Linked DNA regions of Homo sapiens: regions 2, 3 and 4 are each linked to region 1. The links are contacts of gene promoters, found by promoter capture Hi-C in human tissues and cell types (Jung and others, 2019). All regions are on one chromosome and are shown on one strand. Each heading gives the region's core, a stretch centred on a gene start or on the middle of the fragment in contact. The rest is flanking DNA. Distances are from core to core; before and after follow the strand shown.

Region 1 (3,690 bases), core at 433-2,932:
CAGCCTGGAACAGCCTCCCCTCCGCTCAGCCCTCCCAAATGGCTCCTTCCAGCTGGTGAGGACAGAGCGGGGACACCTCAGTCACCCCACAAGCCCAGAGACTTCAAAGGCTGCCCGAGGTCACACAGCGTGCCCACTCGAACCCTAGTTGTTCTTGGAGAACTTCAAAGAGATGCCTTCTTCGGGAACCCCCCCCCCAAAGCTGCTCAGAAAGGGAAACTGAGGCTGGGACAGGGACTTACCCAAGGTCACTCAGGGGATCACAGGTAGGACAGACCTCAGACCCCCTCAGCACCAGCTCCCACATTCCCTGTCGGCTGCAGGGGGCCGGTGAGAAAGACCCTACCAAGGAGCATGCCTGGCGTGGGGGGTCCCTCACTGCACCATGCCCTGGAGCGGAAGCCGGGGACTCATATACTCCCCACACAGTGCTTCTTAAGACGGGCCTGGCCCTCGCTGGAATCGCACCCCCCACGTGCCGGGACTTTACAGTTTGCCCGCCATACTGTCCCCTCTCCAGAACCGGCCTTAGCCGCACCTCACTTCAGGGGAAACTGAGGCCAGAACCTCTCCAGCCTAAAGACACACTGCGTAAGGAGGAAAGCAGCGGTCTAGAAAACGGAACTTGCAGACCTCGGGGTCCCCGGGAGCCTGGGCTGGAAGGAGTCCCCGGGGGGAGCCGCCCCCTCCCCACACACCCCCTCGGCCATTGCACAAGGCTCGGCCCCGGGGCAGTCTGGGAGTGCGGCCAGGGGTGAGAGGCTACGGGAGGGGGAGGGGGAGGGGGAGGGGACGGGGCAGGTGCCGGGCTGGCGAGGGCGTCCGCAGCGCCGCAGTGCCCGGGCCAGACCCGGAGCGCCGGGCCTCCCGCTCCTCCCGGCGGCGGCTCCAGAATCCAGAATCCAGAATCCAGAATCGATGCAGCGAAAATACCGGGACGGTGCTGGGGGGCTTGCAAAGGAGGGGGGACCCAGCCGGGCCGCCGGAGCACCCTTCCCCCTCCTGGGCCTCCAACTTCTCCTGCCCCCTCCCCCTCCATGCACACGTGGGCCAATAACGAGGGAAAGGCGACCGAGGGCCAGGGCGGCCCGCACAACCTTGGTGGGGGGACACGGGGAAAACACATGAGAGGTCCCTTTCTCTCCAGCTGGGGAGACCCAGGGTCCAATCACGACCCCCTAGATTCCTCTCAGAGGCAGGCGGGGGGCTTCCCGCAGAGCCCTTGCTGGAGGGGGGCCAGCCCCCACCCCGACCTTTCCGAGTGTCGGGGCGGGGGTGCGGAGTGCGTCGGTGTGTGGGGGGGGGACGCAAATCTGCAGACCAAGCCCCACATCCGGGAGAGGTCCCGAGAGTCGGGGTTGGGGGTGCTGGGCGGGAGTCCCGCGTAGGGGGTCCGCGGTAGGTAAGGGTGTGGGGGGGGTACCCCAGCCTGACCCATCCCCCCACCGGACCCCAGCCCTCGGCGCGGGGGGCATCCCGGGCAGGGATGGCGGGAGGGACGCGCGCCTTTTTCGTCCCGCCTCCTCCTGCTTCAAAACTCCGGGGCTGGGATGCGGGGGGCGCGGGGGCGCCGGCGGGGGGCCGGGCGAGGACCGTACCTGGGTGAGGCAGAGCGGGGACGAATACATCCCGGGCGCGGCGGGAGGCGCAGGGCCGGCCGGAGCGGGCGCGCTGAACTTACTGAGTCATTTTTCCAAACCACCCCCCCGCCCCCCCCAACCCCCCCCCCCGCCCCGCGGCCGGCGCGCTCTCCTCGCCGCCTCCTCCCTCGGTCTCCCTCCTCCTCCCTCCTGCTCTCCCTCTCTCGCGCCGCCCGCCTCGCTCTCTGTCCCTCTCTCCCTCCGTCTCTCTCTTCCTCTCTCCCCCGTCTCTGTCTCTCTGTCTCTCTCTCTACCCTCTGACACCCTCCCCCTCCCACCCCGAACCTCCCACTTCTCAACACCCAACTTTCAAAGAAACGAGGGAAAAAAGGGCGCGAGCGAGAAAGGAGAGCCTCCCCCGACGTCTCAGGACCCCCCCGCTCCTCCCGTATTTACGCAATGCCCCAGGGCACTAGACCAGGACCCCAGGACTGCAGGGCGACCCCAATTCGGATCAAGCGGAGAGGGGGGACAGGGTTGTTTCTGGACATTGAGGGGCCAGGGGTGGATTTTTAAGGCCCCCCCTCCCCACCCCCCCATCACCCCCGAGCTGGCCGGGAAGTTGGAGGAAAGAGCCAGGGGGGAGGGAAGGAATGAAGAAGTGACGTGCGCAGAGGCCGGCCAGCGCGCCTCTTTCCCCTTAAAGATGTACGACCCTGGGTGCACGGTGAGCTGGTCCCACAGCACCCTGGCTCCCTTCTCCCCCCAGAGCCAGGCAGGGGCTGCGGGTCCCCAGCTAGAGGGGCTTGTGTGCAGCTGTCCCTTCCTTGGCCAGAAGGGCCCAGGCTAACACGGGAGGCTCCAGAATTTGCTCTCTTCACCCAGCACCCAAGGGGCAGGGGAGGGGTGGCCTCGCCTGTGTGTCTCTCCAGCACCCCAGGAGGACGGTGTCCAGGCGGGATCTCCAGCTGGCCAGATAAACCCTTGCAGCCTCCCCCTGGGTATCCAATAATTTCCACCTGCCTCAGGGGTGTGCCCTTTTCACAGATCTCAAGACTGAGGTATGGCAAGTGTGGCTTGGAGCCAGGCCATCTGGACCTGGAGCCCACATTCTGTTCTCCTTCTAGACGTAACAGGGCAGAGACCTGGCCTGCCTCCGTCTGAGCCCCCAGGGCATCTGATGACAGGGCCCCAACCCTCCCCCGGTTCACTCCCTGGATCCTCCCAGGCTAGCTCAGAGGCTGCTGTGTCTCTCATTCCCATCCCAAGGGTTCTCCCCTATAAAGTGGCTTAAAGATGCCCATCCTGTGGGATTGCTGGGGATAAGGACAATGACCTTAGCAGAGCCTTGACCTTGGGTCAAATGTTCACTAAAGACACATTCTTAGAAAGCTTGGCCATTTCACCTCATCTCTCTGAGCTTCCCAAGGACAAATGATACCCTCTCACCAAGCTGGGGCAGGTGCCCCAGGCCCAGGGGCGCAGAAGATACCAGCACCCATTATCCTCAGGCATTACAGGAGAGGAAACTGAGGCCCAGAGAACGGAAGCCACTTGCCCAGGGTCTGACAGGTAAACTAGGAGGGAGCAGAATTCCTGCAGCGTAGGTTCCCTAGGCCCCCCACAGGCTCCCCTCTGCATGACGGTGACATTATTCAAACAGTGCTTAGTACATCACGAACGGTCCATAAATGTGTGTGTCTGTGTATTTTAAACCCACTGTGCAGCTGTGGGGAGCATTTGAATTAAATGGTGAGAAGTGTATCTGGAAATCCACATACCAATATAACGTGAAGCAATTTATTTTATTAAAACACGCTAGGGACACATACAGGGTGAAATCTAAAATTCACAGATATTTAAAAGTTGCAGTTGACTTCAGACACTCCTCCTAGACTTCCAGACCCCGTGCCTTCCACCCTCCCTCCCCTGTACAGACCACCCTGCCTGCAGCCTTCATTCAGCAGCTTAGAATCCTTTGGAAGGTGAAGTTTAGAGAGCAGAGACTGCCCCTCTTGGAACCTCGGTTTCCTCATCTGTAAAATGGCTATAGTAACAGGATGCATCTTGGGAGGTGGGGAAGGTTGGAGTCTTTACATAGCATGTGGGA
Region 2 (3,690 bases), core at 468-2,967, 470 kb after region 1:
ACACGATCACACACTGTCGCAAACTCTGCACCTTGTATGGAAGAATAACTATTATTTTTTGTCTGATTGCTTTGGCATTTGAAAAACTACTATTTTTATGAACATTTTAATCCATCTCTAGCTGCTATAAGATGTGGAACTGCGCACACTTTCTCTACAATTCTGGTGGGAGACAGAATATTCCTGAGAGACTTCCTTAGGCCATGCTTAGCCTGTACCCCACGATAAACAGGTGTTATCCTGACGGACCAGAAGGCAGAAAACACACTTGAACATTTTCCTATTGTCACTAAGGAGAAGAAAAAAGCCAAACAGGAGAACAGTACAGTACATTTACTGACACCGGCTGCCCGAATAAAGCTTTCACAGCATTAGTGATACCCTGCAACAAAACCCCCAGGGCAGCTAACTCCCACCGCTGAGGTCGTCCCCCAAACTGCCTCTGACCCCCAGGCCGTCCCTTGCCATCCCCCCAAGCTGTCCCCTGTAAGGTTCTCTGAGCTGGCCGCACCATGGTCAAGCCCCCCGCCCTTGTGATAATGTACTTTGTGATATTCCCCCGCCCTTGTGAATGTACTTTGTACGATACGTCCTCCTCGCCCTTGTGAATGTACCCCGCCCTTGTGACAATACACGCTCGCGCCCTTGTGAAGGTACTTTGTAATATTCCTCCCAGCCCTTGTGACAATACATCCCCCAAGCCCTTGTGAATGTACTTTGAAACATCGTCGCCGCCCTTGAGAATGTACTTTGTAACACCCACCAACTGTCCTCAAAAAAACTGCTCCTAACTCCGATGCCTGTCCCAAACCTATAAGGACTAATGATTGCCGGGCGCGGTGGCTCACGCCTGTAATCCCAGCACTTTGGGAGGCCGAGGCGGGCGGATCACAAGGTCAAGAGATCGAGACCATTCTGGCCAACATGGTGAAACCCTGTCTCTACTAAAAACAAAAATTAGCCGGGCGTGAGGGCGGGCGCCTGTAATCTCAGCTACTCCGGAGGCTGAGGCAGGAGAATCGCTTGAACCCGGGAGGCGGAAGTTGCAGTGAGCCGAGATCACGCCACTGCACTCCAGCCTGGCGACAGAGCGGGACTCCGTCCCAAAAATAAAAAAAATAAAAAAATAAAACCAATAATAATCCCATCACCCTTTGCTGAGTCCTTTCTCAGACTCAGCCCACTTGCACCCAAGTGAGTAAACAGCCTTGTGGCTCACACTAAGCCTGCTCAGGTGACCTCTTATACGGACACGCGTAACATCCCCAACCTGCTGACCGTCCCTTGCCGTCCCCCCAAACTGGTCCCTGACCCCTGACCGCCCCTACCGTCCCCCCAAACTACCTCCAGCCCCCCTCCTGCCCAGGCCTCCCCCTAAGTTACCCCCAAGCTCCTTGCCGCCCCTTCCGTCCCCCCAAACTGCCCCCAGTCCTCCAGCCCGGCCGCTGTGATGGCGTCCCCGGGTCCCAGGTGCTAGTCCTGCGCCGCCCCGCGCGTCCCTCAGCCAATCCCGGCCGCAGACTTCGGCGGACTCTGGTTCCAGCCGGTTCCCGTCGCTCCGACCGTCCCCTGGCTCTGCTCCTGCCTCGCACTCACCATGTCTCCCCTGCTCCTGGGCTCTCCAAGGCGAGCTCTCCGTGGCCTCGCGGCCGGCGCAGCTGAAAGGTACAGGTACTCCCGGGCCGCTCGTGGTAGGCAGGGCACGCGCGGCAGGGAGGACGAAACGTCCCGCCCTCGGGGCCTCGGAGCTCAGGAAGCGGCGCCCTGATTGGACAATCTCTAAGCCCCCGCCCTTTCAACGCTCTGAGCGGACAGCGTTTTGGACACGCCCCCTTCACCCCTGGGGCCTTCGATTGGACACTACTGCAAACCTGCAATCCGCTTCCCGGTGTCCGCCCCGTGCCTTGATTGGACAGTTTTCCGGACCCGCCCCCGGAGCACCTGATTGGAAGATAACTTCCGCGCCGCCCCGCCTCCTGTCGCCCGAGTGACCGGCGCGTAGCCAACGCTAGTGGCTGACCCGCCAGCGGTGGACACTCCCGTTTGCGCGAACTCGCTCTGGCCCGGGGTGAGCCCAACCTCTCCCCGCAGCTCGGCCGCGCCTCCCGCGTCCTTCTCCCGAACGGGCACGAGAAGTCCAGACTCAGTTTCCCCACGGAGCAGCCGGAGTGCTGCGTGGAGGGGAGGGGCGAGCGAGCGGCGTGGGTCGCGTGGGGTGAGCCCTTCGTGGGGCGGGGTCCTCAGCCGTGACGTCACCGCGCTGCCCCGCGTGGGCGCGGACCCCATGGAGGCCCTGCCCCGTGCTGGAGCACGTGCTGTCAGTGTCCTGATTTTTTTTTTTTTTTTTTTTTTTTTTTTTGAGGTGGAGTCTCGCTCTGTCGCCCAGGCTGGAGTGCAGTGGCGCCATCTCGGCTCACTGCAAGCTCCGCCTCCCGGGTTCAGGCCATTCTCCTACCTCAGCCTCCCGAGTAGCTGGGACACAGGCACCCGCCACCACGCCGGCTAATTTTTTTGTATTTTTAGTAGAGACGAGGTTTCACCGTGTTAGCCAGGATGGTCTCGATCTCCTGACCTCGTGATCGGCCCGCCTCGGCCTCCCAAAGTGCTGGGATTACAGGCGTGAGCCACCGCGCACGGCCAGTGTCCTGATTTTTTTACCCAAACGTTTCCCAGCCTCCTGTCCTTCCCACAGGCCCCTGCACTTTGGCTCGCCCCCGACATCTGAGCCTGCACTAAAATAAGGACCAAACCTCGAGTCACCTGATCCCGAAAATGGGCGGACCCCAGGGAGCCCCTATCCTGTCTGGCCTCGCTGGATTTGTTTTTTTGTTGGACATTGTTTTTTGTTTTATTTATTTTTTTATTTTGAGACGGAGTCTCACACTGTCGCCCCGGCTGGAGTGCAGTGGCGTGATCTCGGCTCACTGCAACCTCCGCCTTCAGGGTTAAAGCGATTCTCCTGCCTCAGCCTCCCGAGTAGCTGAGATTACAGGCGCCTGCCACCACGTCCGGCTAATTTTTGTATTTTTAGTAGAGACGGGGGTTTCACTATGTTGGCCAAGCTGGTCTTGAACTCCTGACCTCGTGATCCGCCTGCCTCGGCCTCCCAAAGTGCTGGAATTAGAGGCGTGAGCTACCGCGCCCGGCGGACATTCTTTAGATCAAGAAATCCGGGGCCGGGCATGGTGGCCCAAGCCTGTAATCTCAGCACTTTGGGAGGCCGAGGCGGGTGGATCACGAGGTCAGGAGATCGAGACCATCCTGGCTAACACGGTGAAACCATCTCTACTAAAAATACAAAAAAATTAGCCAGGCGTGGTGGCGGGCACCTGTAGTCCCAGCTACTCGGGAGGCTGAGGCAGGGGAATGGCTGAACCCGGGAGACGGAGCTTGCAGTGAGCCGAGATGGCGCCACTGCACTCCAGCCTGGGCAACAGACGGAGACTCCGTCTCAAAAAAAAAAAAAAAAAACAAAATCCAGGCCAGGCGTGGTGGCTCACACCTATAATCCCAGCACTTTGGGAAGCTGAGGTGGGTGGATCACCTGAGGTCAGGAGTTCAAGACCAGCCTGGCCAACATGGCGAAACCCTGTCTCTACTAAAATACAAAAATTAGCTGGGCCTGGTGGCGCGTGCCTGTAATCCCAGCTACTCAGGAGGCTGAGGCAGGAGAATCGCTTGAACCTGGGA
Region 3 (3,690 bases), core at 317-2,816, 410 kb before region 1:
TCTTCAGTAAAAATACAAAAATTAGCTGGGCGTGGTGGCGCACCTGTAATCCGAGCTACTCAGGAGGCTGAGGCAGGAGAATCACTTGAACCTGGGAGGCGGAGGTTGCAGTGAGCCGAGATCTCACCACTGCACTCCAGCCTAGGCAACAGAGTGAGACTCCTTCTCAAAAAAACAAAAATAGGCCAGGCGGGGTAGCTCACACCTGTAATGCCAGCACTTTGGGAGGCCAAGGCAGGCGGATCACGAGGTCAGGAGTTCAAGACCAGCCTGGCCAAGGTGGCGAAACCGTGTCTCTACTAAAAAATACAAAAATTAGCCAGGCGTGGTTGCAGGTGTCTGTAATCCCAGCTACTCAGGAGGCTGAGGCAGGAGAATTGCTTGAACCCAGGAGGCGGAGGTTGCAGTGAGCTGAGATCGTGCCACTGCACTCCAGCCTGGGCGACAGAGTAGGACTCTGTCTCAAAAAAAAACCCAAAAACTAAATGAAATATCAACCCACCTTGCCCCCACAGGCCCCCCTCCGTGGGTTTTCTCCCTAGGCTCGTGGCCACTGGCCACGCTCTGCATTTTAACACAGTGGTTGGTTGTCTGTCTGCCCTGCTAGAAAGTCAGCCCCGTGACTTCTGTCTGTTTTGGTCACTACTGCTGTGAGCAGTACCTGGTACACAGTAAGTGCTCAATAAATGTTTATTGAATGGTGAACTTCTGTTTTTCTTTTTTGTTGGTGGTGGTTTTGGTTTTTTGTTTTTTTTTTTTTTTGAGATGGAGTTTCACTCTGTTGCCCAGGCTGGAGTGCAATGGCATGACCTTGGCTCACTGCAAGCTCCACCCCACCAGGTTCAAGCAATTCTCCTGCCTCAGCCTCCCGAGTAGCTGGGAGTTATAGGCACCCACCACCACGCCTGGCTAATTTTTGTATTTTTAGTAGACAGGGTTTTGCCATGTTGGCCAGGCTGGTCTCAAACTCATGATCTCAGGTGATCCGCCCGCCTCAGCCTCCCAAAGTGCTGGGGTTACAGGCGTGAGCCACTGCGCCCGGCTGTGAATGGTGAACGTCTATTCATACCTCCAGACCCAGCTAAAAGGGTCCCTACCCCTTGTGTCCAGAGGAACCAACTGCAGTGCCTTCACCTCTGGACCTCAGCTTCCCCAACTGCCTCTGACATCTGTGAGTTCTAAGACACCTTTTTCTGCCCCCAGCAGATAAAAATATTAACAGTGAGCATTCATTAAGTGCCCCCTGTATGCCAATTTCTGTGCGATGCTCTGAGAAGCTGAAATCCCCCCAGGGTAGGTCCTAGTGTGGCAGTTTTACAGCCAGGGAAACTGAGGCCCAGAGAGGGAGAGGCCCTTGCCGTCTTATGGCAAGGGGCCGTGGAGCCTGTAAGACTATCCCCCCAGCCACCCACTTAGAGCCCCAGCCCTCCATCCACCCTGCCCTCCCTCCTGGCTCAGAACAGCCCAGGACCAAGTGGGAGGGGCCGCCTCAATTAATCACCTTGAGCTAATCCTCCCCCACGCAGCCCCGACCTGGCTCGGCTCCGGCAGGGCCAGGCCACAGCAGACGCAGCGCCAGGCCCGCTGGGGCAGGTGTCCCGTGGAAATCGACGGAGGGGCTGCCGTGGGCGGTGAGTGCGGGGTGGGCACTGGTGGGCCTGGGTAGGAGGTGGTGGGGGCAGAGATCCCCTCAGGGTGGAGGGCTTAGGGCGTGAGAAGGGATCCTGCCTTCCTTGACGGGGGGGCATCCTTGACCCCCCCCCGCCGACACACACACACACAGGCCGTGACAGTCACAGAGAGGGGAAGAGAAAACAGGGACGGTGACACACACAGAGAGAAGGAAGAGCAGACAGAGGCACAGCAGGAGACCCCCCCAAGCCCGAGGAGGACAGCCTGGGGATGCAGAGCGCATGCCGGCCCCAGTGGAGGGAACCGATTTCCCCGGAGCCGGGAGGCAAGCCTGGGGCTCCCCTGCCCTGTCCCTGCCGGTAGCCCCCCCAGCCGTCTCCCCACCATCTGTCCCGCTGCCGTCCCACCAGGTGGGAGCCATGTTCCTGAGCCCGGGCGAGGGGCCGGCAACCGAGGGTGGGGGTCTGGGGCCGGGCGAGGAGGCCCCCAAGAAGAAGCACCGGAGGAACCGCACCACCTTCACCACCTACCAGCTGCACCAGCTGGAGCGGGCGTTCGAGGCCTCTCACTACCCGGATGTGTACAGCCGTGAGGAGCTGGCAGCCAAGGTGCACCTACCTGAGGTGCGCGTGCAGGTGAGGGCACCCCCCAACACACACATCTTTTGCAACCTGGGGAGGGAGGCAAAGCAAGATCCTGACCCTCCCGGAGCAACAGCAGAAGAGAAGCTAGGAAGGCTTCCTGGAGGAGGGGGTGTGGGAGCTGAGGTTTTGACATTTGAGTAGGAGTGTGCCAGCTGGGAAGGAAAAGGGGAGTTTTTCTAGGCATCCTGAACAGTGTGTGCAAAGACATGGAGGGGTTAAGTTGGAGGCGTTTCCCTTGAGCCAGGGGTGAAGGAGGAGGCAGAGAATGGTGTGGGTAACAACGCTTTTGAAGGCCTTGAATGCCACGTTAGGCAGCTCAGGTTACTTGCTAAGGGCCAAGGGAGGCCAAGGAGGGGAGTGAGGAGTTGGAGGGGAGCCTGGGCTTAGGGAACGCTTGGGAGATCCTCATCTTCTTGGGGCAGAACAGCGAAGCAGCAGGTAGGAGTCGGGTCAGACGGGAGTCAGAACCCCCAGGGCTGGGGTGTGCAGAGGGGGTCCGAGGATTGGCGGGGAGCGGCTGAGCTCACAGCAACCCCCCTTCCCTCTCGCACCCTCCAGGTGTGGTTCCAGAACCGCCGGGCCAAGTGGCGCCGCCAGGAGCGGCTGGAGTCAGGCTCGGGTGCCGTGGCAGCTCCGAGACTCCCCGAGGCCCCAGCGCTGCCGTTCGCCCGCCCCCCGGCCATGTCGCTGCCCCTGGAGCCCTGGTTGGGCCCCGGACCGCCGGCCGTGCCAGGCCTCCCCCGCCTCCTGGGCCCGGGCCCGGGGCTGCAAGCGTCCTTCGGGCCTCATGCCTTTGCTCCCACCTTCGCAGATGGCTTCGCCCTGGAGGAGGCGTCCCTGCGGCTGCTGGCCAAGGAACATGCACAGGCTCTGGACAGGGCCTGGCCGCCAGCCTGAGCCTGCCGCCCTCCCGGGCCCCCTCCTCGGCCCAACCCGAGAACCGGGGACGTGCCCTGGTGACAGCCACCACGCCTTGGCCTAGGCCGAGGTCATGGAGCAACCGTGGTCAGGCCAGGCCACCACCACTGGGGAGCGGGACCAGAGAGACAGGCTGCTGGGTTCCCTGCCCCCATCCCGTCTCCCACCCCATCGCCACCCGTCCTGCTGGCAGCGGACTGGCCCCCAGTGTCAGGCAGGAGGTGACCCAAGTATTCTCAGGCCAGGTGCGGGGACCTCCTCCCCTCCTGGGGCCTCAGTCTCCTGTCTGTTAATTGGGCGTGGGGGCCTCCGAGGTTCGAGGGCTGCGAGGCTGTGGGTGGCGGGACCGCTGACTCTGTAAGATGAGTGTAAATCTCTCTGCTTCTCCTAATCCCCATCAGCAGAGCTGCCCACTCTCCAGGCTCCCAGTCCCCTGGAAATAACAAATAGCAGCAGCTCCCGCGAGCCTGGTCTCCTCTCACCGTGTGCTCGCCAT
Region 4 (3,690 bases), core at 663-3,162, 340 kb after region 1:
AGAGGGGTCCCAAACTTCTGAGCTTCATGGGCTCCTAGATTCTATCAGAATATTAGAATCAATGAGCAGAACCTTGTATTGGGACTTCCCGGTGGCTGGGAAGGAGAAGGGGGTGGGCTGGGAGTGTGGGGTGCCTGGGGTTGCCCACCCTGGCATGCTTTCCTGCATGTGTGGGGGTTCTGTTGGTTCTGATGTGGGCAGGAGGGGGCTTGTCTGCTGAAGCATGGCGTGGTCCCATGGGTCCACGCAATAGACCCCCCTTTATGGGGTGCGGGACACCCTGGGATCCCAGTTCCACCCTCCTGGTGGGAATAGGAGACACAGACTTCGCCAGACACACAGCACACCTGTAACTCAGGCAGAGGCAAAGTCCGTGGCCATTGTATGCCCGCCCCCTTCCCCACCCACACGCCTTCTCGTCTGCTCAGCCTCTTTGGGGCACCTGGGCCCAGACCCTCTCCAGATGAAATCCTTCCCTTGAGTGTGGCGTGCTGAGATCTCCACCTGGAGGCATCCCCAGCTGGTAGATCAGTCCTGGGAAGCGGAGGAGACCAAGAAAGGGGCCTTGCCTGGGACAGACGTGGGCCAAGCCGGGGCTGGAATCTGGGACTCCAGGCGGAGGCCCCTTTCCTTTGTTTCAGCTGAGCCCAGCACCTCTGAGTGTCTGCGTCTGAGTTGGGTGTCTGAGCGTCTGCCTCCTGCAAATCCCTGGCGGGTGTGCGTCTGGCGGGTGGTGTATCTGTGACTCGTAGGACCTCAGCCCTGGTCTTCCCAGCTCCAGGCCACCCTGGGCCTCGCTCAGCTGAGCACGCAGCCTGGTGGGGCTCTGAATCCCACCTCGGCCCATGCCATGCTAGCCTGAGTTCCCTCTGTGCACCTGCGGGCGTCACCTCCCCAACCCTTCGGCTTTGCCAACACCTGGTCCGCCTGGGAGTCCAGAGCTGGGTTGCAAATCTCTACCCCGCTCCAAGCTTCCTCTCATTGCTTCCTGCCAGGCGGAGATTGTGAAGCGTCTGAGCGGTATCTGCGCTCAGATTATCCCCTTCCTGACCCAGGAGGTGAGTGGGCCTGGGGGTGGGGGGAGGAGGGGAAGGGAGCCGGAAGAAGACGGGAGGGGGTAGGTCTGGGCGAGGACGCCCCAGGCACTGATTCTGCCGCGTAGCCTGCAGCACGGATAGAGACCATTTTCACTGCAGTAGTCCCGCAGCCCTGAGGCCAGGCATCCCGCTGGGGCAGGGGCTGCAGGGATGGAGGGAGGTGTTGGCTGAGGGTGAGGACTGGGGGCTGTTTTCCCCCTTGATGGGAAGCAAGGCATAGAGCTGACCCCCTCAAGCCCTGCAAGTTGGCTGCCTGGGTCTGAATCCTGGCTGTGTGGCCTCAGGCAGGACACTTGTCTCTGTTTTTTCAGTAGCGTAGGTGTGAAGTTGAGATGAGCTCATACACCCAGGGTGCTGGAGATGATGGGTACGCTTACTCAGCACCTGATGAAAGTTAACCCTACCGTCTTGCTAGAAGAAGTCACTGAGGGACAAACACTGGGTGATCCACTCCTAGGAGGTCCCAGGGTCGTCAGGTTCACTGAGACAGAAAGCAGAATGGGGGGTGCCAGGGGTTGGGGAGGGGACGGGGAGTGAGAGTTTTATGGGGACAGAAATTCAGTTTGGGAAGATGGGAAAATTCTGGAGATGGTGCTGGGGATGGCTGCACAACCGTGTGTGTGCTTTATGCTGCTGAGCTGTGCACTTACAAATGGTTAAAATGGACTGTAATTCGGCCAGGTGCGGTGGCTCCTGCCTGTAATCCCAGCATTTTGGGAGGCTGAGGCAGGTGGATCACCAGAGGTCAGGAGTTCGAGACCAGCCTGTCCAACATGGTGAAACCCTGTCTCTGCTAAAACTTAAAAAAAAAAATTAGCCGGGCATGGTGGTGTTTGCCTGTAATCCCAGCTACTCGGGAGGCTGAGGCAGGAGAATAGAATTGCTTGAACTCAGGAGGCGGGGGTTGCAGTGAGCAGAGATTGCGCCGCTGCACTCCAGCCTGGGTGAGAGAGTTAGACTCCATCTCAAAAAAAAAAAAAAAAAAAGTTAGCTCTTCTGAGAGTGCCCCAGGTTCCTTTCATCCTCAGTACCTTTGCACAGTCCCTGTTTCTTTTTTCTTTTTCTTTTCTTTTGTGTGTGTGTGTGTGTGTGATGGATTCTTGCTCTGTTACCCAGGCTGGAGTGCAGTGGCATGATCTTGGCTGACTGCAACCTCCACCTCCTGGGTGCAAGCGATTCTCATGCCTCAGCCTCCTGAGTAGCTGGGATTACAGGCGTGCACCACCACGCCCGGCTAATTTTTGTATTTTTAGTAGAGACGGGTCTCCCTATGTTGCCCGGGCTGGTCTCGAACCCCCGGACTCAAGCAATCCGCCCGTGTCAGGCTCCGAGTGTTGGGTTTACAGGTGTGAGCCACTGTACCCAGCCTGCACTGTCCCTGTTTCTGTGTGGTACGTTCTCTCTTCAGAGAGACGTGAAAGATAGTTCTACTTCAGAGTGGATACACTGGGAGGATCCTTGATGCCTTGAGGACCAAACCCAGAGGGGAGATGCTCAGTTTGTTCAGATTCCACTGAGTCTGAGATTTCTGGAAGCTTGGGGTGGGGAGAGGTCCTGTGTAGACACAGAACATAAAGAGCATCTGCAGCGGAAAGTGGGGACGAGGTGGTCTAGAGAAAGGCAAGAGCCGCAAGAAGTTTAGGTAGGCCGAGCCCAGTGGCTCACGCCTGTAATCCCAGCACTTTGGGAGGCCAAGGCGTGCGGGTCATGAGGTCAGGAGTTTGAGACCCACCTGGCCAGTATGGTGAAACCTCATTTCTACTAAAAATACAAAAATTAGCTGGGCTAGTCCCAGCTACTCGGGAGGCTGAGGCAGGAGAATTGCTTGAACCCGGGGGGTGGAGGTTGCAGTGAGCCGAGTTCGCACCATTGCACTCCAGCCTGGGCAACACAGCGAGATTCTGTCTCAAAAAAAAAAAAAAAAGATTAGGTAAAATGACTGTTGAAAGGAATGAGTAAGGCACACATTTCCAGGAATTAGCAAACTGCAGCTCGAGGGCCAGCTCCACCCCTCCACTTGTTTTTGCAAATAAAGTTTTATTGACATAGCCACGCCCACTCATGTACATATCATTTCCAGCAGCTTTCCCATTACAGTGACAGAGTTTGGTAGTTGCAACAGAGACCTCTGGCCTGCAGAGGGAAAATGTTTTCACTCTCTGGCCCTTTCTAGAAAGTCTTCCAACCCATCCTACACACACCCACACACAGGTGCACCCCCATGGGAGCTCTGTATCCGCATCCTGATACCTCCTTGGTGGAGACAGCCCAGATGTCTGTCTTCAGGAGCGTGTATACACAAGCAGCCTCAGAGTGCATACAGTGGAATATACTACTGTTCCGCTATCCTACACGGCAGTCACCAGCCCCGTGTGATCATTTACACTTAGGTTAACTATTAATAATATTTAAATCTATTATTTTTTTCCTTAAAAAAATTTTTTTTTTTTTTGAGACAGAGTCTTGCTCTGTCGCCCGGGCTGGAGTGCAATGGCACGATCTCAGCTCACTGCAATCTCTGCCTCCTGGGTTCAAGCGATTCTTCCACCTCAGCCTCCCGAGTAGTTGGGATTACAGGCACCCACCATCATGC

The links. Contacts are between HindIII fragments. The study calls those that stand out against the background at their distance.
Region 2: a contact is called between the fragment with the promoter of ZNF57 here and the fragment with the promoter of NFIC in region 1, in 2 of the 25 tissues and cell types used here (mesendoderm cells and thymus).
Region 3: a contact is called between the fragment with the promoter of RAX2 here and the fragment with the promoter of NFIC in region 1, in 1 of the 25 tissues and cell types used here (heart right ventricle).
Region 4: a contact is called between a fragment that was not itself captured here and the fragment with the promoter of NFIC in region 1, in 1 of the 25 tissues and cell types used here (dorsolateral prefrontal cortex).

What each region holds. Positions count from the first base shown.
Region 1 is chr19:3,364,575-3,368,264 of GRCh38, reverse strand. It overlaps NFIC (nuclear factor I C), which reads right to left and starts at 1,682. Exons shown (of 11, transcript NM_001245002.2): 1 at 1,599-1,682. The coding sequence starts at 1,628. RefSeq lists silencers at 674-1,073, 1,364-1,513, 1,964-2,053. The HindIII fragment of the contact is 27,364 bases long and covers 1-3,690 here.
Region 2 is chr19:2,898,955-2,902,644 of GRCh38, reverse strand. ZNF57 (zinc finger protein 57) reads right to left here and starts at 1,717. Exons shown (of 4, transcript NM_173480.3): 1 at 1,597-1,717. The coding sequence starts at 1,599. RefSeq lists enhancers at 1,520-1,669, 1,529-2,100 and a silencer at 2,280-2,329. The HindIII fragment of the contact is 10,438 bases long and covers 1-3,690 here.
Region 3 is chr19:3,770,104-3,773,793 of GRCh38, reverse strand. It overlaps RAX2 (retina and anterior neural fold homeobox 2), which reads left to right and starts at 1,566. Exons shown (of 3, transcript NM_001319074.4): 1 at 1,566-1,631; 2 at 1,784-2,267; 3 at 2,835-3,690. The coding sequence starts at 2,052. The coding sequence ends at 3,173. RefSeq lists an enhancer at 2,774-3,273. The HindIII fragment of the contact is 8,287 bases long and covers 1-3,690 here.
Region 4 is chr19:3,022,388-3,026,077 of GRCh38, reverse strand. TLE2 (TLE family member 2, transcriptional corepressor) reads left to right here. Exons shown (of 20, transcript NM_003260.5): 5 at 996-1,058. Among named protein-coding and RNA genes, the nearest start is that of TLE2, 5.0 kb to the left of the region's middle. The HindIII fragment of the contact is 4,166 bases long and covers 1-3,690 here.